Regions from separate parts of the Homo sapiens genome. Here regions 1 and 2 are each linked to region 3. The links are contacts of gene promoters, found by promoter capture Hi-C in blood cells and fetal thymus (Javierre and others, 2016). All regions are on one chromosome and are shown on one strand. Each heading gives the region's core, a stretch centred on a gene start or on the middle of the fragment in contact. The rest is flanking DNA. Distances are from core to core; before and after follow the strand shown.

The links. Contacts are between HindIII fragments. The CHiCAGO score rates a contact against its expected background, and 5 or more counts as called.
Region 1: a contact is called between a fragment that was not itself captured here and the fragment with the promoter of MAB21L3 in region 3, in 3 of 17 cell types (naive CD4 T cells, fetal thymus and total CD4 T cells). The highest score is 7.0, in naive CD4 T cells.
Region 2: a contact is called between a fragment that was not itself captured here and the fragment with the promoter of MAB21L3 in region 3, in 12 of 17 cell types (naive CD4 T cells, fetal thymus, naive B cells and 9 more). The highest score is 11.6, in naive CD4 T cells.

Annotation. Positions count from the first base shown.
Region 1 is chr1:116,520,955-116,524,158 of GRCh38, forward strand. It overlaps CD58 (CD58 molecule), which reads right to left. Exons shown (of 6, transcript NM_001779.3): 4 at 952-1,029. Among named protein-coding and RNA genes, the nearest start is that of MIR548AC, 38 kb to the right of the region's middle. The HindIII fragment of the contact is 278 bases long and covers 1,455-1,732 here.
Region 2 is chr1:116,490,044-116,493,564 of GRCh38, forward strand. LOC112268235 (a long non-coding RNA gene) reads left to right here. Exons shown (of 2, transcript XR_002958352.2): 1 at 1-3,450. Among named protein-coding and RNA genes, the nearest start is that of LINC01762, 13 kb to the left of the region's middle. The HindIII fragment of the contact is 1,126 bases long and covers 1,594-2,719 here.
Region 3 is chr1:116,109,729-116,113,066 of GRCh38, forward strand. MAB21L3 (mab-21 like 3) reads left to right here and starts at 1,671. Exons shown (of 8, transcript NM_152367.3): 1 at 1,671-1,782; 2 at 1,901-2,082; 3 at 2,679-2,935. The coding sequence starts at 2,888. The HindIII fragment of the contact is 2,542 bases long and covers 786-3,327 here.

The DNA.
Region 1 (3,204 bases), core at 344-2,843, 410 kb after region 3:
AATGATAGGATTATTCCTTATCTGGGCTATCCAGTATGGTAGCCACTAGCCAGATGTAGGTATTGAGCACTTGAAAGGTGGTTAGTGTAACTGAGGAATGAATCTTAAATTTAATGGTATTTCATTTTAAATGATATATTTAAATAATCATATGTGGCTAATTGGCTACTATACTAAACAGTGCAGGTCTAAGGAAACTGAAATCTAGTTTATAAACTTGATTCATGACACAATGGATCCTAGATACTATCACTTGTAGAAAGTTTACTCTTCGGCATTCCCTGTCTGGCATATTTCCTTTTGGTGAAGGCTGGTATGGAAACTGCTGTGGCATCAAGAATATCCACTCTTCAGAATTACAGCCTGCTCCCTGTCCTTTGGGATTTGAGAGGGATTACTCATTACCAGGAATGAACAGGCTGGGAACAAATTCTCCAAGTCATCAGTTCTCCAAGCTGTATGACTGCCCAAGATTGCTAGGGGACTGAGAAGGCTCAGGAAGTAATACAAGCACAATTACTTGTATTACGTAAGTCACTTAACTCAACCAAAACTCCCTTCCTACCTGGGAGCCCCATTCGTGTTATATGACATGAAAATTACAGAGGTGGCAGCCTAAAGAGGTCTTTAGCAAACTCTGACTTGGAGACCAGAAGTTTAACTATATTTTGAAGCAGATCACAGGTAAAAGGAGGCTATGCAACAGGTCCAGGCTGTGTTCCCAGGCCTGTAAAGCTCTCTGTGGCCTAAGGATTCATTCTACCTTGAGATAATGTGGATCTTTGGAGGAACCTAGCATGCTCAGCAGTCCCACACACGTAAAGCAAAAAAGTTTTTGTTTCTTTTCAAATGTCTAAAATTTCAAACTTTATTTTCATCCTTAAACTATTTTCTGACCTTTGGAAAACAATGCAAGTTTTCAAACTATTTTGTTTTAAAAAGCATACATACCATTCATATACAGCACAATACATGTTGTAATTACTGCTAATGGTATGGGTATAAGTGCATATCTGTGTCTTGAATGACCTATAAAAAAGAAAAGAAAAGAAATTCAACTAGTTGAACTGATCAAAATGGATCCTCATTATTTGCAGATTCCACCTTGCGGTTTGCTTATTTACTGAAATTTATTTGTAATCCACAAATCAATACCCAAAGCAGTCATTCTCAGACATAAGAACAGTGATGAAAACTTTGAGTCACCCAATAAGCAGATTCCCAGCAGAGGTGGAAAAAGGTAAAGCTCTGCCTTCTTGTTTCAAGTTCTTACACTGTTAACAAGTGTCCTATTTGCAGTCTATTTAGTGCCATGATTTTGCATTTTTGTGCTTTTTTGTTGGTGATTTCACTATTTTAAGTGGTCCCAAAGTATAGTGTTGAAGGGCTGACAAGAGTTCCTAAGTGCAAGAAGGCTGCGATGTGCCTTGCAGAGAAAATAGGTGTATTAGATAAGCTTCACTTAGGCATGAGTTACAGTGCTGTTGGCTATGAGTTCAAGGTCAATAAATCAACACTATATATTAAGGTTTATTTAAACAGAGACACACATAAAACAAGGTTATAAACAGATCATTAACAAAAATCTTATGACTAGAGGCTCACAGGAACCTACCCCTGTATTTCCCCCAGGAACATTACTTCACTACTTGCTATTTCACTGTTAACTTGACTCTGTAGAACTAATATGAATAACAAGATTCGACTATTTCTAAACAAACTTATATGCACAAGCTTGATACATTCCAGACCCTGTGTTATTTAATAAAAGAAGCAAGTGTTCCACTAGAAGGTTTGTTTCTGACCATCTCATACTGCCAGTGGAAGCAGAACTTGGCATTGTGTTTGGTAGGGCAATTCTGGCAGTTGTATATAATAAGCCTTAAAAATATTTATCATGAAGCATCTAGACATTGCACTAAGTCATGTGCCTATAGTCTCACTAAGTCATTACAATGTTGGGCAAGTGCCTTAACCTCTCAGTGCCTCCATTTTCTCACAGGGTAACTATACTCGAGACTAATAAATATACTTATCTCATAGGGTAGTTGCATTTAAGAACAGCTGTTATATACTGTCATTAACCTATTGAGTAGATGTTATTGGTATCTCTATTAATATCTTGTGACTCTGCAATTCCATTTCTAAGATGTTATCCTGGGGAAAATATCAATGATGTGCCCTTCTACTCCCCGCAAAAAGGCACAAAGATATTTACTGCAGCCTTACTTAATATACCATAAGGCAAAAACAACCTAAGTTGTTTTCACAGCAGCTCCTTGTTTTCACAAAAAACTGTGGTATGTTCACAAGGTAAACTCTATCCAGCTATTGAAAATCCAAAATCAGAGTACACAATGCACTGCTAAAGGATTGGGGAGGGGTCACTAAGAACAAATGTGACATGGATATGGGAAAGGAAGGGAAAGGAAGGGAGAGGAGGAAGAGAGAGAGAAAATGAATGAATAAATGAGAATAAGGATATGATCACACTTTCCTTTTATTAGGAACACAGGTGTGTTGGAGCAAATAGGCAGTCACCTATTGGTCAGATTTGAGAAGACCCTGGCCAGAAACTGCTAGGTGCCCCCGAACATCATTTTCCCTTCTTTAGTAGCAAAATTCAGATATTCCTTGGCAATAATACTCCCCAAGTAGTGTTTGTATACTTCCCTTAGGTGGCATACGATGCCTGGTTGCTTTTCTTTTCATGATGTCAGTGCCACTGAAGATCATTGTCTAGAGCCATAAGTTCATCAAGGGTTTGCAAAGTGGTTTAGTCTATCATTCCTTCTTTACTAACTACAATCTTCACATAAAGATAAACTGCCCCTCATCAACAATGTGGTTACTCTGAGGTTCAATTTATATAGGAAAAGCAGCATTTGATTCTTCTCTTTCTTTATCGTTTTTCAAAATAATGAGTTAGCTCCCAAGCATTCTCTAGAGATGACCAGTGAGTTTTTAAATTTGTTTTTAGTACATTATGAACGCATGAACTGAGCACAACTGATGTGTTTCAATCTACTGAAGTTGTTATTCTTATTGATGTTCCAATTGTCTTATTTTTGGCCAGAGGGAACCTCTTCAGAGTGGCTCCTGAGTCCTGTTCGTACCATCATGTTAAGTCTTTTTGATAGCTTTCTTGTTCTGTGGTAAAATAAGATACTCAAGGCTTATTTTAATGCATTCCATGCCCCAGGT
Region 2 (3,521 bases), core at 907-3,406, 380 kb after region 3:
TGCTACTGCAGAGCATTGTCTCTCCCAAACACATCTCTGTTCTGACCTCTTTCCATCTAGCTGTCCTCAAAACCCACACAAATTCCACCTTCTCCATGAAGACTTCCTGATCAGCCCGTCCCAAGAGACTATGTACAGTCTCACACGCGCTCTCTCTCTTCTACCTCTGTAATCCTCTCTGCTTGCACTCCTGGTTTAGCCCTTAATAGATATAACTTAGTGCATATAAACTTTCACTTGCATACGCAAACTCCCAGCTGTACTATAAACTCCTCAAGGACATGAACAATGCCTCTGTTGAGCCCTGAGAATTTGTAGCATAACGAATAATACCAACTAGCTGCTGCAAAATGCGTGTTGAATAATTAACTGGTTAATTTTTAGGAGAGGATATGGGAGTCCTCATGATTCTGTTAAGTAGACAAGCATGGAAAACTCAAAGGCAAGTAGTTGTCTCTTTGGCTAAGACTCCCCTTAGCACCACAGTCTGTAATTCACTCACCAAATCTTTCTGGGTGTTTTAGAGAAGATGGACATTGCTCTGCACTGAAACCATGCGTTAAGCCCTCTGCCGGTTTTAGGGCAGACTAAAGCACCCTGCCCAAAGCTCAGAAGGTTCAGGTGAGTTCAGAAAGCTCCAGGCTTTCTGGCAGCCTAGTATGTTCCCTTAGTCTTTTCCCAGTCTGGGCACTCACTCCCAGCTCCTCCCCAGGTGTCCACCTCTTAGCCTCACCCCAGGCCTTAGTGATGACAGCACTAGGCAGCAACTGGTATCTCCCCTGGAGGCAAATATGCCTGCACAAAGCCCAGACCTTATGCTCTTCTCTCCTGGGATTCTGCTTATTTTCTTTCTCCTTAACTTATTGCCCCTTCTTCTATGTGGTCTGTTAATCTCCAGATCTTTGAGAAGGATGACCATGATGTCAGAGCACGGGCCTTGGCATGGCCTGTCTGCATCTCTCTACTCTCCGCTCCCCGCAAGATTCCTGGGTCATGTGGGGCTTCCTCAGCACCCCCTCTCCATGCAGCTCCTCCTCTCTGAGTCTGCCTCCTGCCTTTCCTTCCAGCCCCATCCAGGGTGTGGAGAGAGCTCTTGACCACAGGTGGAGGTGCCCTTCCCCACACCTGATGAGCTCTGTCCACACTTGGAGACCAGCTTGTGCCCTATGGGTCTGAGCCTGGGCCTGCCTGTCCCCCAACCTGGCCATGAGGGCCCTGAAGCCACCATCACGTCTTACCTTTATTTCTGATGCCTAGATCTGTGACTGTCACATAGTAAGTGGTCAATCAATATCAACAGAAGGTGGAAATAAATGGTAAATGAGTAAACAGTCTTGGTTCTGCTCTATGAAAATACCGAACACATCAACTCACTCTGACATTAACCGTTTAGACACTTAAAGCAGGCCTCTGAACTAGACAGATCTGGAAGCATCACATAGATCACCAATCACCTCATCTACAAGATGAAGACCAAGACTGGTAAGTGGCTTGCACAAGGTTATACAGAGTGTGAGTGGCAGACCCAGACTGGATCAGACTCTCTGAGTCCCTGCTGAAGGCACCATCTCAGCCATGCTTTCAGAGTAAGAAAGCTTTGCTTCTAAAATACCTAGTAATTCAGACTTTTCTCCCAATTATTTCTAATTAGTAACCTACCTAGCACTGATGAGTTCTTGAATATATGCATGCATGCATGCATGTATAAGTGAATGAATGAATGAAGGCGAGGTCATGCTGGATTCACAGCAGCAGCAGTGCAGCTTTTCCAATAAAGGCACTAGGGATGTGTGCAGGATTGAGGTGATGCGTTTAAGGCATCTTTCTGCCTCACAACCCTGACACTGTGCATACCCGGGCTCTGCCATCGCCCCTACTCTGCAGACTGACAGAGGCTGTTCTGAGCTGTCCTTGCCAGCACCATTCTTGTTGAAACTATTAGGTTGCTATTGTTTTTAGCAAACAAACAGCTGATGCCTCATAGAAAATTTAGCATTTGCTCATTCCTGTTCCATTTATCTTTTAGTTTGTGCATTTTCTCTTCTTTATTAGCAGGGCACTTACTGGAAAACTAGATCTCTGTCACTTACTGGTTTCATATGTTTCTTCTGTTCATAACCTACCTGGAGTCAGAATTATGTCTCTGTCACAGAGCAATTGGTTGCTATGGAAATGATCATAGCACCCCAGACAGGAGGCCTGCGTTGGAGAGAAGAGGGAGTGCTGTGCCCATTGGGGTGGGGGTGGGTATGGGGGAGGTGCTGCAGGAATCCTGAGTGTGACTTTTTAAGCTAGTACTGACTTGTCTAGGCCAACCTGGTCATCTTGACCCTCTTCCTACTCAAAGTTGTGTGTGTGTGTGTGTGTGACACTTCACTTATCCACACTCCCACGCACCCCACCCAAATATAAAACAAATGCTTCCCCTAACTTCTCTCTTCTACCTCCAAGTCCAACTTAAAGTTCACCTCCTCAATCTTCTGTGGTTAACCACCCCTGACTAACCCCTTCGCCAATCAAACCCCCCCCCCCATTCCTAGTGAGTTTGTACTTAATTCAATTGCATTGGAATCACTTGCATTCCTTCTCCTGGGCTTTTTTTTTTTTTTTTTTTTTTTTTTCTTACCGGGCTTATGTGCTTTATCTTCCCAACAGTATCCAGGCCCCACAGAAGTCCATCTGGGCCAGTTGGTTTTATCTTCCCACAGAGCCCAAGCCAAGCTTGGCTGACCACAGGCCCCTGATAAATGCTGCCCCCGACTCTCAGAGAGATGGACAGTCTCAGCCCCTGAGCCTGTCCACTTTAACCCATCCAATCTTACCTCCTGAGGATCAGTATGCCTAGAGCAATAGGCAAATTAGACAGCTCTGGATATAATTTTAAACACTGTCAACCCAATGAAAGGAGAAAAACTCTAAAGCTTCATTTGCCTAAAACGTCCTCAGATGAAAAAGGAAGAATGAGAAAACAGTTTAGTTATTTAAAACTGTCTTATTTTTGTGGGTTTTAACTCATTTATGTTTCAAGTTTGCCCTTAGTCTTGGTTGCCTGTCACCCACAGCAACTTTGACCTCCAGAACCCTTAGGGTTCACATGCAGTGACTCTCCCTTCTGGGTTTCCACTGAAGGACCTTGCGGGACTGTCCAGGTCAATGGCAGCTGTACATGGTGGGAGAACCTGGGCCTGTTCCAAAGTGCTTTATAGGACAAGGTTAAGCTCACAAACATGAGTTGTGGACTTGGGGCCTTTCCTTTGTCTAACGGGCAATATCCTTACATCCGGGACCTGGGGGTGCCGAGCCCGTGAACTTCCCTTGCGGCCTGTGGTTGGAGACAAATAGCTGTGCTGGCTCCGTTGGCAGAGTTGGTGTTGGTTTTGGTGCCCCAACCTCCTTTTTCTGGAATCTGCCCCATATTCAGTCCCCAGATGGAAGTAAGCTGATACTCAGGTAAGAAGGGGGCGAAAGTCAGGGTGCCTCTAGTGTGGAGTCGACGCTAGGGCTGGACGCCATGGTTCCAC
Region 3 (3,338 bases), core at 421-2,920:
CGGGTTGTTCACTACTGTGGACTTCAGCACATCACAGACGATTATCTCTGCCTGGTATTCTGCATTGTCAGATTCAGTCTGAGTCATCTTGGGATTACAGGAAATCTTTTAAAAAGTCAGAGTTTGTTCCTGGCTAATATGGTGAAATCCCGTCTCTACTGAAAATACAAAAAAATTGGCAAGGCGTGGTGGCGGGCGCCTGTAGTCCTAGCTACTGGCGAGGCTGAGGCAGGAGAATGGCATGAACCTGGGAGGCGGAGCTTGCAGTGAGCCGAGATTGCGCCACTGCACTCCAGCCTGGGCGACAGAGCGAGACTCCGTCTCAAAAAAAAAAAAAAAGTCAGAGTTTGTAATCCTGCAAACTTTAACAAATTTGTATATTTAAGGTTGATTTTGATCAAGCTAACCTTCCTCCTTCTTGGAATTAAAATCTCAGACACTAAGTAAATCAGTAACAAACACTTCTGCTGGTAAACCAGGGCTAGCATTATCTCCCCGGGACTTCTCAGATTGGCAGCGTAGGGTTTTGCATGCCTTGTTAACCTGACTTGTAATAAGTTCTTAGTCTTCACAATGGAAACTGAGCCAAAGCAGGTTTACATTTCCGTACTTGCATTTGGTGTGAGTCATGAGAAAGGAGAATATTTATTTTCTGAGGAAGGAAGAGAACCTGAGCTAACTTTGAATTTCCTCAGTGGCCTAGCATACAAGTGCCTTAGGCTTACTGTAATTCAATCCTTTTGCGAATCCTATATCCAATTACCCAGATATCTACATCTAAAAAAAGCTTGTCTTCATCAAACTGTCAGACAGGAGCTGTCAGAGAGTCTATTTGTGGGACTGCCCTGTATTTCAGAGCATTTGCCCATAAGGAGCTAAATCATGGAGTAGGGAATTGGGTTGTGCCCCCACAACACACCTATTCCCTGGATATGACATCCTGGTAAAATCGGACTGTGTAGCTTCCCTGAGCACATGATTATTTCTTCGTTTCCTGATTGCTCAGTTGGCCCTGTTGGTTGCTTTCCCTGCTCACAGCCGGCAATTGTCGCTGGATCGTAGGGCAAGAGAATATTCCAGTTATAACATTTTGATCAGCTGCGGTACTGGAGCAATCAAGATAGGGCAGCCACAGGTGCAAAAATAATGAAAGTTTGTGCATCTGATGACAGGTGTCTGGGGTAACCCTCGAACATTAGGAAAGACCCCACCGGAGGAAAGGGACTCACAAGTTAATGATTACAGTGAAAGCAGAAGTAACAACAAAAATGAGCACATGAGAGAAACAGTGGGACTTTCGTAATGTTGAAAATGAGGTGGAGAGAGAATTCTAAATTGCAAGTTCAGAGAAAGAGGCTCTTGCTGTCTGTGAAAAACAAATAGTTTGGCACTACTATGATAAGAAAAGCCCAGGGAATAAGATTCTGAAAAATTTGGGAGCACTTGATATCAAAAGAAGGAGATTTAGAATTACATATAGAAACAAATGGAAAATCAAGGCTGTTTTGAGGGGTGCTATCAGAGGGTCATTGGAGAGGATGTAGCTTTACAATATTTATATCAGGCTGTGCATTGGCAGGAGTTCTGTAGAAGTTGGACTGAAAGCTGGAGGTAATGACGTGGGTGGGGCACAGAGCAGCTAGGGAGCTCTGATGCGGCTTTTGCTTGGGGCAGAGTATGGGAAGATATGCAAACGCTGAGGCCCCAAATAGTGCAGTGGCCTTTGTGGGCAGCACTTACAGGTGGGCTTGGAAACACTTGCCTTTGGAACATTGTTTAAAAGTAAGTAGTGCTCCCAGAAGGGCTGTAATTTCTTTAGATTATCTGATAGCAGACTCCGTGATGTTTACCAGCTTCAAGGAGATCAGACCATTGTGAAATTTTTTTTTTTTTTCTGTAGTAAAACTAGCCCCAGCCAGCCCAACTGGGAATTTACTGCCTGAGCTGTTTTCCAACATAAGTTTTGCTGGCAAAACCAGACGTGAGTGTTCCCTCGACTCTAAAGGGACCTGTTTACACTGACTTTATTTTTACTGCCAGCTTTCAAGTTGGAAGAGGGAAATTACGTTTAAAGGTCAGCAGGTGAGCAGAAGGATTCCTGACCAGCCATTCCTGTGGGTGTGTGCCCGTGTGCACTCTGTGTACGTGTGTGTGCCTGTGTATATGTGTGTGCCTGTGTGTACGTGTGTGCCTGTGTATATGTGTGTGCCTGTGTGTACGTGTGTGCATGCTTTTCTAAATGCCAACCGTTGTGCTCTGCGCTGGCTGACAAGACCTGATCACTTGTTTGCGGGCATAATGATGGGTGTCAGGCTGGTTGTTGGGCAGTTTCCTATTTGTTTATTGTAAAGAAGGTAAATCAATCCGTGGGATTTTCTGGCTTGGAGAGCAAGGGGTGTTTACTGTCAACAGGATAAGGACCAGGAGATATAAGATACTGAGTTCCACGGTGCATCTAGTGTTGGGACAGGAGCATAAAAGGTGGGGAGAAGCCAACTACAGGGTATTTCTGACTTGGATGGAACTTTTAAGTACTTGGGTGGGAAATACAATTTGGAAAATTGCTCTCTGGTGAAAGCACCAGTCAATGTAGCTAACTAAGGTATGATTAGGTTGGACTCAAATTCAATTTTATCAACTCTTCTTTTTAAATTCTTTTTTTTTTAATTTCCCAAAAGATGACAGATGGATTTTCACAATTTGGAAATAAAAACATGAGTGAAGGGTTCGGAAGGCAAGTCTCTGGTCCATTACACACTTCCAGAAAAACTTAGTACCCAGAGACTCACATTACTGGGAGTGCTATCTACTCACAAGTGTTGCACTCCATTGAGAAAAAAAAAAAAACCAGGAAGTTGCTGTTCTACTGAGGACTGACCAAGAAGCCATGAAATACCTTACTGTGGGAGACTTAGAAGATTGCCTACTGAATAAGGTAAGGACAGACCCGGTCTCTCCCATGAACCCCCTCCCCATTCACACTACTTCCAAACAAACCTTCGTCCAGAAAGGATCTCAGGCTCTTTCTAAAGACACATAAAATGCTCCTCAGAAAACAGACTGTCACCTATAACAATGTTTGGGGGCTTAACATATATCAGCCTTACTTCTCTTTGAGGGTCTGGTACCCAGAGACATGCTGAGTATAGAATATAGAATGGAGAGTAGGAATCTGGGGAATGAGGGGGAACTCCAGCTCTGCCACTGACACTCGTGTGGTTGTGAGTCACTTAACCTGCCTGAGCCTTGGCCTTCTTCTCTGTAAAATGGGAATAATAATAGGAGCTTCATGGGGTAATGGAAAAAGAGCTAATGAAATTAAAACAAAGCTTTTTAAA